Linked DNA regions of Homo sapiens: region 2 is linked to region 1. The links are contacts of gene promoters, found by promoter capture Hi-C in human tissues and cell types (Jung and others, 2019). All regions are on one chromosome and are shown on one strand. Each heading gives the region's core, a stretch centred on a gene start or on the middle of the fragment in contact. The rest is flanking DNA. Distances are from core to core; before and after follow the strand shown.

The links. The method cuts DNA at HindIII sites, captures the fragments that hold promoters and counts their contacts. A contact is called where the count stands out against the background at its distance.
Region 2: a contact is called between a fragment that was not itself captured here and the fragment with the promoter of C8B in region 1, in 9 of the 25 tissues and cell types used here (H1 embryonic stem cells, IMR-90 fibroblasts, aorta and 6 more).

The regions. Positions count from the first base shown.
Region 1 is chr1:56,962,954-56,969,813 of GRCh38, reverse strand. C8B (complement C8 beta chain) reads left to right here and starts at 3,799. Exons shown (of 12, transcript NM_000066.4): 1 at 3,799-3,957. The coding sequence starts at 3,866. LOC112267900 (a long non-coding RNA gene) reads right to left here and starts at 5,842. Exons shown (of 8, transcript XR_007066117.1): 1 at 5,757-5,842; 2 at 58-234. The HindIII fragment of the contact is 9,311 bases long and covers 1-6,860 here.
Region 2 is chr1:56,878,832-56,885,691 of GRCh38, reverse strand. C8A (complement C8 alpha chain) reads right to left here. Exons shown (of 11, transcript NM_000562.3): 5 at 4,058-4,247; 6 at 2,011-2,211. Among named protein-coding and RNA genes, the nearest start is that of C8A, 27 kb to the right of the region's middle. The HindIII fragment of the contact is 5,987 bases long and covers 1-4,263 here.

The DNA.
Region 1 (6,860 bases), core at 2,550-5,049:
ACAATAAACCACCAAATCCCAATAACATAGCACAACAAAAGTTGAATTCTAACTCACATGAAGTCCTTTATGGGTCAACATGGGCTCTCCTCCATCCAATGACTCAGGGGTTTAGGCTTCCTTCACCATAAGACATTGTTCTGTCAACACATGCTTCCAAATCCACAGGACAGAAGACAGAAATGGACAGGGCACACTGGCTCTTAAGTGCTTCAGCCCGAAAGTGTCACATGTCTGTAAGAAATTGCCGAATGTCCACGAATTCCTTCCAAAATTGTAGGCATACCCCTTTGCAATGTGACTCTGCTCTTCCTCCCATCAACAGGTATAAGCTCTGTCTCTAGCTCTTGAATGTGGGCTTGGCCATTGCTTCAGCCAAGGAGACATTAAGAAACATCAGGCAAGCAGAAGTTTGGAAAGCACTTGTGCACTGGGGCTTGTCTTTTCTTGCTGCTTTTTGAAACCATTAGATCACCCTGAGATCAAGCCTGAGTTAGTCTATTTGGAGTCATGTGGCCCATTTACTTCATCACTTCAGCCAACAGCCAGTGCTAACTGACAGACAGAATGAATCATCAGGCAGGTGAGTAAGGCCATCCTGGACCAACCAGGCTCCTGCTGACCTACCAGTTGGCTGAACCAAGGCAAGGCCAGCACCCATTTTAGCCTAGGCCTATTTGATGACCCAAGGAATTGTGAGCTGATAAATGATGATTGTTTTAGTCTACAATTTTGGGATTATTTGTTATGCAGCAAAAGCTAACTAATACAAAAATAGGTACCAGGAGTGGAGTGCTGCCATAGCAGAAACATGAAAAGTGGCATTGGCTGTGGAACTGGGTGGAGCCTGGAAAATCAGTCAATAAAAGTTGGAAAAACAACAAACTGTTAGTGGATCCGCAGACCTAGAGTTACAAATTCCTTCATATCGTTTAAAGGCCTAGAGACATATGATCAGTTTCAAAGCTCTCGCATGGTCAGAGATGAGATCTATAGCCCTGAGTAAGAGCAGCTAGACCAGAAGAGCAGTGTGGTGTGATAACTGTGAAGACTTAAAGCAGTGCTGGCACATCCTAAGGGCAAGGGGAAGCTTCAGAGCTAGAAAAAGGAGCATTTAGGAGTCAGAAAAAAAAGTGTATCAAGCCAAAGATGTCCTACTAACCAGCTGTGGAAACAGCTGTGAAGCCCCATCTTAGAGGCTTGGAAGATGATATTATGTTTCTTGGCTTATTGTCAAAATCAAACAAGATGATGTATGGGAAAACTGTTAAATTGTTAAGAACTGTCCCTGAAAAATATGTGTATTACTATCACTAAAGCCTGAGGCTGCCGTCCTCCAGGCGGGATCTCAGGTGAGCTGCACTGGGAAACCACCAGGGGGCGCGATGAGGTTGGAACTCCGGGAGACCTGGGGGCGCCTGGAGCGTTAAGAACCCCAGGGGAATCTATTGGGAAGGCTTTCTTGAGCAAGTGACATTAATATAAAACTCGAATAATGAGTCGTATTTAGCTAAGTGGCACATACTCTGGACAGAAGGAACGGCATGCAAAAATCCTGGAGGTGAGAGAGCACAGGATTCACTCGTGTAACTGTCCTCTCTAAACCTGCAGGCTCCTCCGTGAGTACATCAGGTTGAGGAGGTCGAAGGGGAGCCCTGTCTTCTAAGGGTTTGGCTTCTCTTAAAGGCAGGCAGATAGGAGACAGGACATGGATCTTTCTTGAAACACAAGTTTCTGCTTGTTTACAAATGATTAACCACCACAATCAATTGCGTCAAAGTTCAGGTCAATTCATCCTTTGGGACAACGGTGACATGGAGTCTTGCACCTAGGCTTATGACAACTGGAATGCATCCTGGGTGGTCTGGCAGCAGAACTTGTGTTCTGTGTTTTGGACACAATTAATGTGAGAGGACTACCATCTTCTGTGGCTTTCCCATCCATCCCCTCACTATACTTCCTTATTTGATTCTCCAACCCCAACCCAGCTACTCGGCAGGGGTGGCAGGAGGGGGAGGCTTCCCGTTTTGTACGTTCAAACCCAAAACAAACTTATCAAGTAGGTAGTAATGAATTATTATCCCTATTTCACAGATGAGAAAACAGAGTCTTAGAGAAACTCTGTAACTGTGTTTAAGGAAAGCAAATCCAGTGTTCTTTCTACTAGCCCACCCTCATACCTTGCAAGCTGCCTCTCCCATGTGAGGTTCCTCACCCACATCTGCAATAGCAAAAGCAACAGGACGCCATCCAACACGTGGACTCAGCCCTTTATGCGTTGCAGGTTGGTTTTGTAAATGCCAGGTTGGTGCAGTTTGGACTTTAATATGTTGATTCTGGGGAGTCAGGGATGGTTTTCAGGAAGGTAGGTTTGAGAACCTCAGTCATTTGTATCTTTTGGGATGCAAACAATAACAACAACAGCACATATATATTTAGATAATTATTTTCATGTAGTTATTTCCTGGGTTTTTTTTGTTTTGTTTTGTTTTGTTTTATTTTGAGACGGAGTCTCGCTCTGTCACCCAGGCTGGAGTGCAGTGGCGCGATCTCGGCTCACTGCAAGCTCTGCCTCCCAGGTTCACGCCATTCTCCTGCCTCAGCCTCCCGAGTAGCTGGGACTACAGGCGCCCAACACCATGCCTGGCTAATTTTTTTTGTATTTTTGGTAGAGACGGGGTTTCACCATGTTAGCCAGGATGGTCTCGATTTCCTGACCTCGTGGTCCGCCCGCCGCGGCCTCCCAAAGTGTCATGTAGTTATTTCTATAATGCCTATTTGTTCAACAATTACACATTTAGTATTTGGTCTGACTCTCCCAACTGTGAGTGGTAAGTTGTCATAGTCCTCCTAATTTTACATATGAAGAAACAGAATCAGAGACAGTCAATAAAAATACCAGCTCACTTATAGAGAGTGCACATAGAATGTGCCAGGCAATGTTCAACATGTTTTGAACATGTTGTGAAGATTAAATAAATCTAATTTATTTAATAATAATAATTATAATTAATTATAATTACAATAATAATTAATAATAATCTAATTTATTTAATCTTCACAACAACCCGGTGAGGTTGGTATTATTATTATCCCTGTTTTATTGATGAAGGAACTTAGGCCCAGAGAGGGTTAGTAATTTTCTCTGGCCACACAGCTGGTGAATCATACAGAAGCAATTTGAAGTCAGGTAGATGGGTTCTAGAGCCCTACAGCCTCTTACTGACTTGCTCAACATCATGTAACTGGAAAGAGGCAAACATGGAATTCAAACCTTGGCCTGTCTGACTCCAAACCCTGAATTCTACTAAGTAATAATAGCTGACATATCTGAGCGCTGAACATAGGCCTGTTCTAAACATTTCCTTATATTAACGTGTTTAATTCTCACCACTTAGCAAGTAAGGAGAGTAAGGCACAGAAGTAAAGCAACTTGCCCATAGTCCAAAGCTGTTAGGTTGGTGCAAAAGTAATTGTGGTTTTTGCCATTAAAAGCAATGACAAAAACTGCAATTACTTTTGCACCAACCTAGTCAGTGGCAGAGAATGTACTTGAACCCAGGCTGTCTAGACCTAGATCCCACAGTCCTTGCCACCTCACTAATAGCCTGTCCACTTGGCAGCTTACCCTAAAGTTACAGAGGAATAAACACCATGCTGCTACAGATTTTTCATTATTCTGGTTGGTTTCCAGAGTGACAGGTAAGTTTTTGGTCTGTGCAAAGTCTGTTTCCAGTCACTAGTGGCTTTCTGTTTACTTTGCAGAGCTATTTGCTCTTGGGGACAGAAGCTGACAGTGGCACTCACAGCACAGGCTTGTTATGGGTCTAGCAGCCTCTGTGGCATCTCCTGTCACATTGGGAAAATGAAGAATTCCAGGACATGGGCTTGGAGGGCGCCGGTGGAGCTATTTCTTCTCTGTGCTGCCCTGGGCTGTCTCAGTTTGCCTGGCTCCAGGTAAGTGACAGTTACCAATAATTCCCTGATCAATAATATGACAGGGAAGGTGCAGCCACATGATGCTGACCATCTCTTTGTTGCATGCCTATTGAATGAGGAACGTCTCTTAAGGCAATTTGCATGCATCTGATAACATACTATCAACAACTCTTTTCAAATTATTGTGGAACCAAGTAGCTGATTTCAACAAAAGTTCCTGTAAGAAACTGACAGGTTTAAATGTATTTTGTCATGCTGAGAAGAATAGGATATTTTTTCTGTATTCTGAACAAAGCCTCCGTGTGATTCTTTATGAAAAAGAAAGTTTGTTACATACAGAGGACAAAAGAGCAAATTCATGAAATGATTTTAATAAATGAGATTGACCTACTCTACCTGCTCATCAACCCCAAATCTTCAGATTCTCAGGTTCTTTCCCACCCCCTTCTTACACACACACACACACACACACACACTCTCTCTCTCTCTCTCTCTCACCCCCCACAAGGTTCCCAGCAGTTAAATGCTGGCTGATTTATTTCATCATTGTTAGTCTCCATTAACAAGGTGCAAAACAAGCTAAAGAAAATATCCTAGTGGGAGCTCAAACTTGGGCTCCAGTGATAGAAGAGCCAGTGACGTAGCAATGTGGGGATGCTCCGTGTGCATGAGAAACCCCTGCCATGAGATGTTGAAGTGTGCATGTGTCCCCGGCCTCCATGTAAACACTCCTGTGGGAAGAGGGACTGTAATTCCATTCCTTTTACTTAGTCCAAAAATGAGATCTGAACAAACCTTTCACTTTATGTGAGGAGTACCTCCTACCCATGGGACACAGCCTCTGGTCTCAGTTCTGTTGAGCTGCCATTAGGAACCACAGGATGATGAGCATTCGTTCACTATCTATTGGCCACTCAATAAGTAACAGCTATTAGGATGATCAAGAAACTCCATTTAGCCCAGAGAATAACTAAGCTGCCAAGACCTTCCTTGTGTGTACTGTGTGTACACAGAGAAGCATTCAGGACCCAAGAAAATGTCTCCGGAATGGAGGACTTAAGGGAACCATAGCAACCCTATCTATAGCATTGTGCCCCTGGGTGGAGCTTTCTGTTGGGCTCTGAGGATACAGAGATGAGCCTATGTTCTCACAAAGAATGCCAACATGTGAGCATATGCTATGTGTACCGTTACAAAAGATGCTACGGGGCAGCCAGGAAACAAGGAGGGAATGATCAGCTCTACAGGGCATAGGGCCTGGAAAGGCTTCTAGAACAGAGAGTGTGAGGGCTGAATCTCTACAGGTGCGTGGGTGTTTGCCGAATGGCTAAGGGGTTGAAAGGTGTGCCAGGTAGAGGGAGCAGCACAGGCAACGGTGCGTGAGTGTGAGAGAGCTGGCTTGCTCCTGAAGCTTCCAGACACCTCAGTGGGCCTTGAACACAGGTCCCGGCAGGAAGTTGAGAGGGATGAGATAGAGTAGGAGTGAACAGGCATCATGTCATGGGCAGAGTTGGGGGATGCTGGAGTACCAGCTAAGGAACTTGAACTATATCCTCACCACAATGCATTGGGAAGCCATTGAAGAGTTGAAGCAAAGGAGTGACACGATCAAATATATATATTAGGAAGTTCACTCTGAGGTAGGGAGTGGAGGGGCAAATTGTTGATTAGAGTGCAGTCTGAGAAATTGTATTTAATTGTCACTACAACATCATGAGGTGGGTGTAATCTCTCCTTCTCGCTATGTAAGAGAACAAACTGATCCTCAGTGACAAGAAAAGATTCACGCATGTGTGGTGAGGTTTTCAAACCCTTACCTGAATCTGGGTATAGTTCTGACATCCACCTATAATCCCCATGGGGCTGTCTTGAACACGACAGGTATTTGAATTCCATCTGCGAGTAGAAGAATAGTCTTTGGTTCTGGAACAGAAAATGCTGAGACCACCTTCGTATTGGCCAAAAGAGTTTTTTGTTCTTACTTACTCTTGTAATCAAGTCAGATGATGAAATCACAATCACTGTGTCGTAAGACCTATTATGTATTGCCACTCTGTGCCAGCAACTTGGAAACATTAGCTATAATCCTCACAGCTATTCCAGGTAAGTGCTACTGTTTACAGTTTCACAGAGAGGGAAACAGAAAACATAAGTGTCCCAAGGCTATCCACTTAACAAACAGCTAACTATGGATTCAAATCCAGTTTCATTCAGGTCTCAGAGTCCCTGCACTCTCTCTGCATCCTTCTGCTTCTCACTAATGCGTTGTCCCCTCCCCACCCCCCACCACCCCCCAACCTCCACATTGTGTATCTGACTTGTTGGCCTCTGTGCTGTTTCTCCATCTCTGGGCCACACATTTGTTGCCTTGAGATGTTGCTTTAAATTTCATGTCTACCACAGCAAACGACAGAGAGAAGAGAAATTGAAAACCTGCCACCTAGAAGCTGCCCCTTCTAGCAAAGAAAAAGGATGCTGTTTGCAAAGGGGATGCAGCTGCTTAACAAATTGTGTGTGACAAGAAAGTTGTTGTGTCAGGGCATTTCTACCGAAAGCCAAAATATATTGACGCACCCCATCTATATAAGCTGATGGCTTGCAATTTACTGCTGACCCAATCCTGCTGTACTGGATGGATCCATCTTTATTTTGATCAGAGACGCCTGTTAGGAAAAGAGTGGGAGACCTGGGCCCAGTTAAATGTGTCCTAATGCTGGCTACAGCATTTTCTGCATCCCCAGGAAAGACACCTCCTTGCCAGTCCTTAAGTAGAGGGGGCACATGTTCAAGGAGCTGAGCAAGGGCGTTTACTGTAGCTCTATTTGCAATCGCAAAACATTGGGAAAATATAAATGTCCCTCAAAAAGAGAAGGAATAAATTAAATGCAATGTGTGTCATATGATAGAACATCCAGACAAAA
Region 2 (6,860 bases), core at 21-2,520, 82 kb after region 1:
TAATCCCAGCTACTCGGGAAGCTGAGGCAGGAGAATCGCTTGAACCAGGGAGTCAGAGGTTGCGGTGAGCCGAGATCGCTCCAGCCTGGCAATAGAGCAAGACTCCGCCTCAAAAAAAAAAACAAACAAAAAAAAACAAAAAAGAAAGGATGCAAAAGGTCAGCTTTTAGTAGCTGTAAGAAATATATATATGTATTTACGTAAATATATATTTAAATAAATATATATTTACGGAAATATATATATATTTACTTAAATATATATTTAAATATATATTTAAATAAATATATATTTATTTAAATATATATTTAAATAAATATAAATATATATTTACATAAATATATATTTATGTAAATATATATTTAAATAAATATATTTATGTAAATATATATAAATATATATTTATGTAAATATATATTTATATATAAACACGTATATGAACATAAATACATGTAATTGGAGTACTACTATATTTCACAAGCACATACTAGGCACCAATGTGTGCCAGACTTCCCCCACACCTCCATCTCTGTTCCCATTGCCCCTGCCTAGGTCAAGTTCTCATCAGCTCTCACCTGGGTGAGCTACTACAATGGTTTCTTCATTGTGCTTCACCCTTCTGTTCTTCTCCCAATCTATTCCCACCCCCACACTTCTCCTAGTGCTAATCAAAGCACTGCATTGTGAAACCTCCTATGCTAATATTACATATCCATTAAAAACTGTGTTTAAGATATCTTTAGTGACATGCTGAAATGTCATTCAATTGAAGTTATTGAGCAAAGATCTACAATGCCTATAGTAGAATGCATTACACTAGGTGCAGAGGACATAATCTTGAATGAGATAGGCTCCTGCCCCCATGGAGTTTACATTCCAATAGTAATCTTGAACTAAGTAATAAAGAAAAGCAGCATCTTTATATAAAAAAATAAGAGATAGCACTGGAAGAATTTTGGATTGGTTTTACAGGAAGATGGCCATCTATGGGCTTTACTTTCAGGCAATAGAAGCCTTGATTCAAAGTGATGATGGAAGTTAGAGGAGTCCACATGCTTTTAGAAAAGTCCATATTAACACGCTACAGATAACCCTTGAACAATATAGGACTTTACCTTCAGCTCAATAGCTAATTCTTTGGCAAAGCTCTAGGACTCAATTTATGTGTGTTGAGTAAGTTGATTTTTATAACTATATTTTCATCATTCAAGATAATTTTTGAACCCCACCTTGATCCATAGTCTTGGTATTAATGCAATTGAGAATTTTTAGTAAGCTTCTAATTAATTCAATAAATATTCCCCTGGCCACCTGATTACATCTCCAACCTCATCACTCTCTGTTTTCCTTTCCCACCCTGTGCTTCAGCTGGCTGAAGTACTTTCAATCCCAAGTTTTTGTGTGGCTTCCTCATCTCCAGGCCCTCGCACATGCTGATTTCCATGCCTAGAGCACCTTTCTGCCAACTTTTGTCTCCCTTTGTCTGGACAATTTGCACTAATCTTTAGATCTAAGCTTAGATCAATGTTCTTTCCTCAAGGAAGCATATATTGACCCCCCAGGATAATAGGCACTTAATGGTGAAGGTTTACTGGAAAAATGAAATTTTTTTTTTTTTTTTTTTAGCATACCAGTCCTTCTATCTTTTTGGAAAAGCAAGGCTTGCTTTACAATTCTTCCAAGTGAAATTTAGAGGGTCTGGCTGTTTCTCTTAAAACATTACCATTCTACACATTTCCCTATATGCTCCAGGTAACCATAAAAAATGATGATGGGGGGGGCAAAGTGATAAGAGTCCTAGTCTTATCATTCAATTTTATTTCCTTTGTGATGATTCTGTGTGCAAAAGCGTAATAAGAAAAACAAACCTGATTACCACTGATCAGACATTTCCAATTACACAAGCAAATTAAGGTTCAATTACTACTGTACTTTTTAATGCAATTAAGGTAATACGTGTTCAGTGTATATTATGGAATACTGTGAGACACAGACATTATGTTTGAATACCTTCTCATTATACTTGTTTAATTCGTTCAAGAATGAAGTGTCTTGTGAGTGGGATACACCTACACCCACCAATAAAGGGCTGCCGGCTGGGCCTATGCCGATGGTCACTCCAAATGAGTCAGACTTGTCTTTTTTAACTTTGGAAAGAAGGTCATTTGCATTATCATAAAACTCTGAGGAGATTCCAGTATCTGCCAGGGCCTGAAAAAAAAAAGGATAGATATTAGCTTTGTGCACATAGAGCCATTTCTCAATTCATATTTAATACTTAAATCTTTGCTTTGTAAAATATCTAAAATTTTAGATTATGGTAGGTAATTCTTTTATAAGGCAATCCAGTCATTAGACTGATACTTATTAAAATATAGAAAACACAGCATTGTTAGTGTTTAGTGGTACTGATAAAATACTTATTTACACACCACATGTGCTTGCACACACACACACACACACACACAGATGCAGATGATTCTGATCAAATGCTATATTGCTCTGAGCGTGGATTTCTTTCTTGCTGGCTTATCCTTCCAGGAGAGAAGGCTGGCTGCTTGTCTTTGCAATAGTGAGATACAGAAAGCCACATCTGGGCAGGAGCCTGGGAGGAAAGAAGCAAAGGAAACCTGCAGATTTGGATTGTCTTAGGCAGTGGTATACAGGATTTCATTTCTCTGCTGTCTTGAACTGAGACATGGTCTTGGCCTTGTTTGAGCCAAAGAAGTAAGCCTTATGAGCCTGTGAGTAGTTTGCTCTGCAATCATGAGAGCATGTGTTGAAATGGAGCCTCCATTACCTTGAGTCCCTGAGTGTCTGTGATGGTCAGTTTCCTTTCTACTTTAGGGTGGACAAATAGCATAAGCAAGGTATTGTTGCTTCAGCTGCTGAGATTTGAGAATTCTTTGTTCCCAAAGCACTTAGTCCGTCTTGCCTGATACAGAGCCCCAAGACCTTCCTTGAGATTAGGAACATGGTGTTGTTTATGTCTTCCACCTTGATTTACCATTGGCCTGATAGAGAGTAGAGGTTGGAGTGGGGTTGGGGGAGCAAACTTCTTAAAAACAGGCCCTATAAGCTTGGCCTTATTTTCTGTCAGTATTTTGTTCAGAATCCTAGGATCCTACTATCTCTCTCTAGAAAGTGTATAATCTATCTCTTCTTCTAAATGTTGTGCAGCCTGGACTTAGTTCAGACAGATCTAGGTTTGGGTCTTGTCTTTGCCACCAACTGCAGTAGAGTTTGATCCTGACACTTTAACCCTTTGTGTTTCTTTTTCTTAATATCTAAAATGAGGCAATGATAATATCTATCCCATTGTGTTGTGAGGATTAAATGGGAGAATTTGTGTGAAAGTAGAAGATCTGACACATGTTAAGCATTCAATGATGTTCGCTGTGTGGATGTTTCACCCAAAGGATGAGTGGTAAGAAAATTAATGGCCATGAGTAGGCCCTTGACTGATCATGAGCTCCAAGTGACCAAGAGACCACCAAATTGTAGAGATGGAGAGAGTCTTAGTGATCGTCAGCAATTTGCAAGCATTTTTGTACAGAAGAACCCTTGCTTCATACAAAATCACATACAAAGAGCCAAGACATGAAAATGATCAGTGTGAGCTGCCTTTGGTGAAACAAAAGCACAGGTCTCAGAATCCTGCTCATCTATGCCCTGTCCTCCCCCACACTCTACAGATTAGAAAACTGGGCCCAAGGAGGGCAGTGAGTTAGCTGCTAACAGTCTTGTATATAGTCTAACAGAGCCACAACTTAGAAATAGGTTGTCTGATTGGCAGCCCAGATAATAGAGCCTCAGATCTATTTTACTGATTTTGGAATGGAGCCAAGATTTAACAGGTGGGTAGCCACATTTATGATCTGCCTCTCAGCACCCTTCGACACTAAGCATGTGTGGGGATGGGTATGAAGGAGACTTCAGACACCAGCAAACTTTATAGAAAACAAAAGCTTCCAGAGCAAGTCATCTCCACAAATAGGCCTCTGCCTCTCTGCCACCTACACCACAGTGGCCTCAGAGCCCCTCTGTTCAGACTTACTTCAAAGTGGTACTTCAGAAAGTTGTAGGGTTTCCGAAAGTATTTCTCATCATCTCCATAGTAGAGACGTTCACAGGTGGAGTCATATCGAAGCTCCCTCCATTCCCCATTGTATACCGTCTCACACTGGCCCCCATAATAACTGGCATCGTACACACTCTGAGCATCTTCCTGGGTCAGGATATTGTACCTACATGGAACAAAGCAGCTTCTAAATAGCTAGTGGATGCTGGGTTTTATACCTGGGTGATGGGATGATCTGTATATTAAACCACCATGGCACACGTTTACCTATGTGACAAACCTGCACATCCTGCGCATGTACCCCTGAACTTAAAATAAAAGTTGGAAATTAAAAAGCAAAAGCAAAAGCAGCTTTTAGGAGAGAGAATTAGAAAAGCAAGGTAGCATATAATGTCATCTTCTGAAAGATGTTGTAGCTGGTACAAGTAACAGTTTCTCAATCTATGTTCTGTGGAGCCCTGGGGTTCCTCCAAGAAGCTTATGGGCCACTTTAGGTAACACTTGGAGACTAAATGGGCTGGCCTGAGCCTTCAGATTTCCTTTACCCAGATCATCTAGACAGTCCTATTTAGCATCTAGAATCATATTCCCACATGGGAAGCAGCCCTAAATATTTGTTGAATAAGTTAGAGAAGAATATGTGCAATTATCATGAATCCAAGGGCAGCAGCCAGACAGTCTGGGCCCATTTCCCATCTCTGCCACATCTAGCTGTGTGACCTCAGGCATACCATTTAACCTCTCTGTGCCTCGGTTTAGTCATTTGTAAAAAGCAGTTCTTAAATACTACTGCCCTCATAGAGTTAAATGAGTTGAAACATGTAAAGAAATCATAATTGTGCTCAGCATACATTAAGGACTGAATAAAGGTTGCTATTGTAGCAATTGTTAGTATTAAGTATAATTCTTAGTATAGTATAAGGGCTCTGCTGCTACAAAAAAAAACTTTGAAATATTGGATGCAATTCATAGTGCTAAGGTTGAGACTCTAATCCTCAGAAAGGCCATTATCTTTGAGGCAGCATGGGACATTGGAGGGTGCACAGTTCAAAAGTCAGGGAGACTCCTGTTTAATTTCCAGCTTTGCCACTTACTAGCTGTATGACTTTGAACACAGTCTAGAAGCTCTCTGCATTTCATTTTCCTCATTTAAAGAATAGACATAATAATACCTACCTCTCATGGTTTTTGTGATGCTGAGAGTATGAAACTAAAACAGCAGTAAAGTACATATTAGGCATTCAACAAATTATACTTACTTTTCCCTAGCCCAACACTCTTCCAGAAATATTTCTCTATACTTTCCTTTCTAGAGTATTTAAAAATCATCAACCCGGGTTCCATGTTTTAGGATATGGATGGTTTTACCATATTCAGGTAAAATAATGTCAAGCAGATGAAATACAGCTTTAATTTTCTAAAAAGGGAAAGTTAACAGAACAAAAACTGTAGAGTTGGCTAAGAGTTCTAAGACCTGACAATCAAAGCCTCTTATGTTGCAGATAATGTAGTTATTGCTCGTTTTTTGTCTCTCAAACTCCTATTTAACCTTAAGGAGCCAACTCAAATGTTGCCTTCTGTCAACAGCCTTCTTTGAATGCTCTGGAAAGACTGCTGTTTCCTCCTCTGTGTTCCCAAGGGATGCAGTGACTACCTGTAGCATAGCGATCGTCATGATTGTTTATGGCCTCTGTGAAAAGGCACAAGGCAGGAAAGGAGCAGGGGATAAACTGCGAATAAAACCCACTTCAAAGGAATAAGTGGATAATTATAGAGCACCTGGCAGATTGTAGAAATTCAATGTATGTTAACTTCCTTTTTCTCTTTCTTTCTCCTTCTCTTTCTTCATATTAGTGGAAGTGATGTAATAATAACTACAGTAAATTGAATACATACTCTACTAGACGTTTAGCTTTCAACCTCACGACAACTTTGCAAATGCAGAAATTGAAGTTCAGAAAAATTAAATAACTTGTCTCTAGTCATAGCTGGATTTTTTCCTAGATTTTGTTGATAGTAAAATCTGGGTTCCTTCCCTTTACTTTCCCTGAAGTTTCTATCTTCCTGACCATTGAACATGTTTCTGCCTGTAGCTTATAAATACAGCCTCTTAATAGACTGAACAAAACTCAAAGAAACGGTAATCCCTAAGAGTATAATATAACCTCTAAGCATAAAGCCTATATATATTTGGAAAAGCTGGTTGTGAAAGCCCCAGTTAAAAGGGAAAGGTGTAGTCAAAGAAGTTCTACTTTTTGGAAATCTACTATGCAGAAATATCCACACATGTGTACAAAACTATGTGTACAAGAATGTTCATTGCAGCATTTTTGTAAGAGGAAAATATGGGAAATAATCTAATTCTCTTTCAATAGGAAGTAGTCAAATAATTATATAATTATACTATAGATGAGGAGTTGGAAATTTTTTTTTAATAAAGAGCCAGATAGTAAATGCTTTAGGCTTTGCAGGTCACAGGGCTGTGTTGCAACTACTCAACTCTGTCATCGCAGGGTAAAAGCTGTATTTCAATAAAACTTTATTTGTAAGAATAGCCGGCTGAATTTGGCCTTCAGGCCATAGTTTGCTAACTATGTTATAGAAGAATATGCTGCTTATTAAAAAGAGATAGAAAATTTGGGGGAAAACTTAAAACTCTACTATTAAGTATAAAAGTGAAAGTTGCAGACAATATGTATAGCATGATCACATTTATGTAAAATATACCTGTGTCTATAATGCCCAGTACACATAGGTATATTTTCTATATAATGCATAT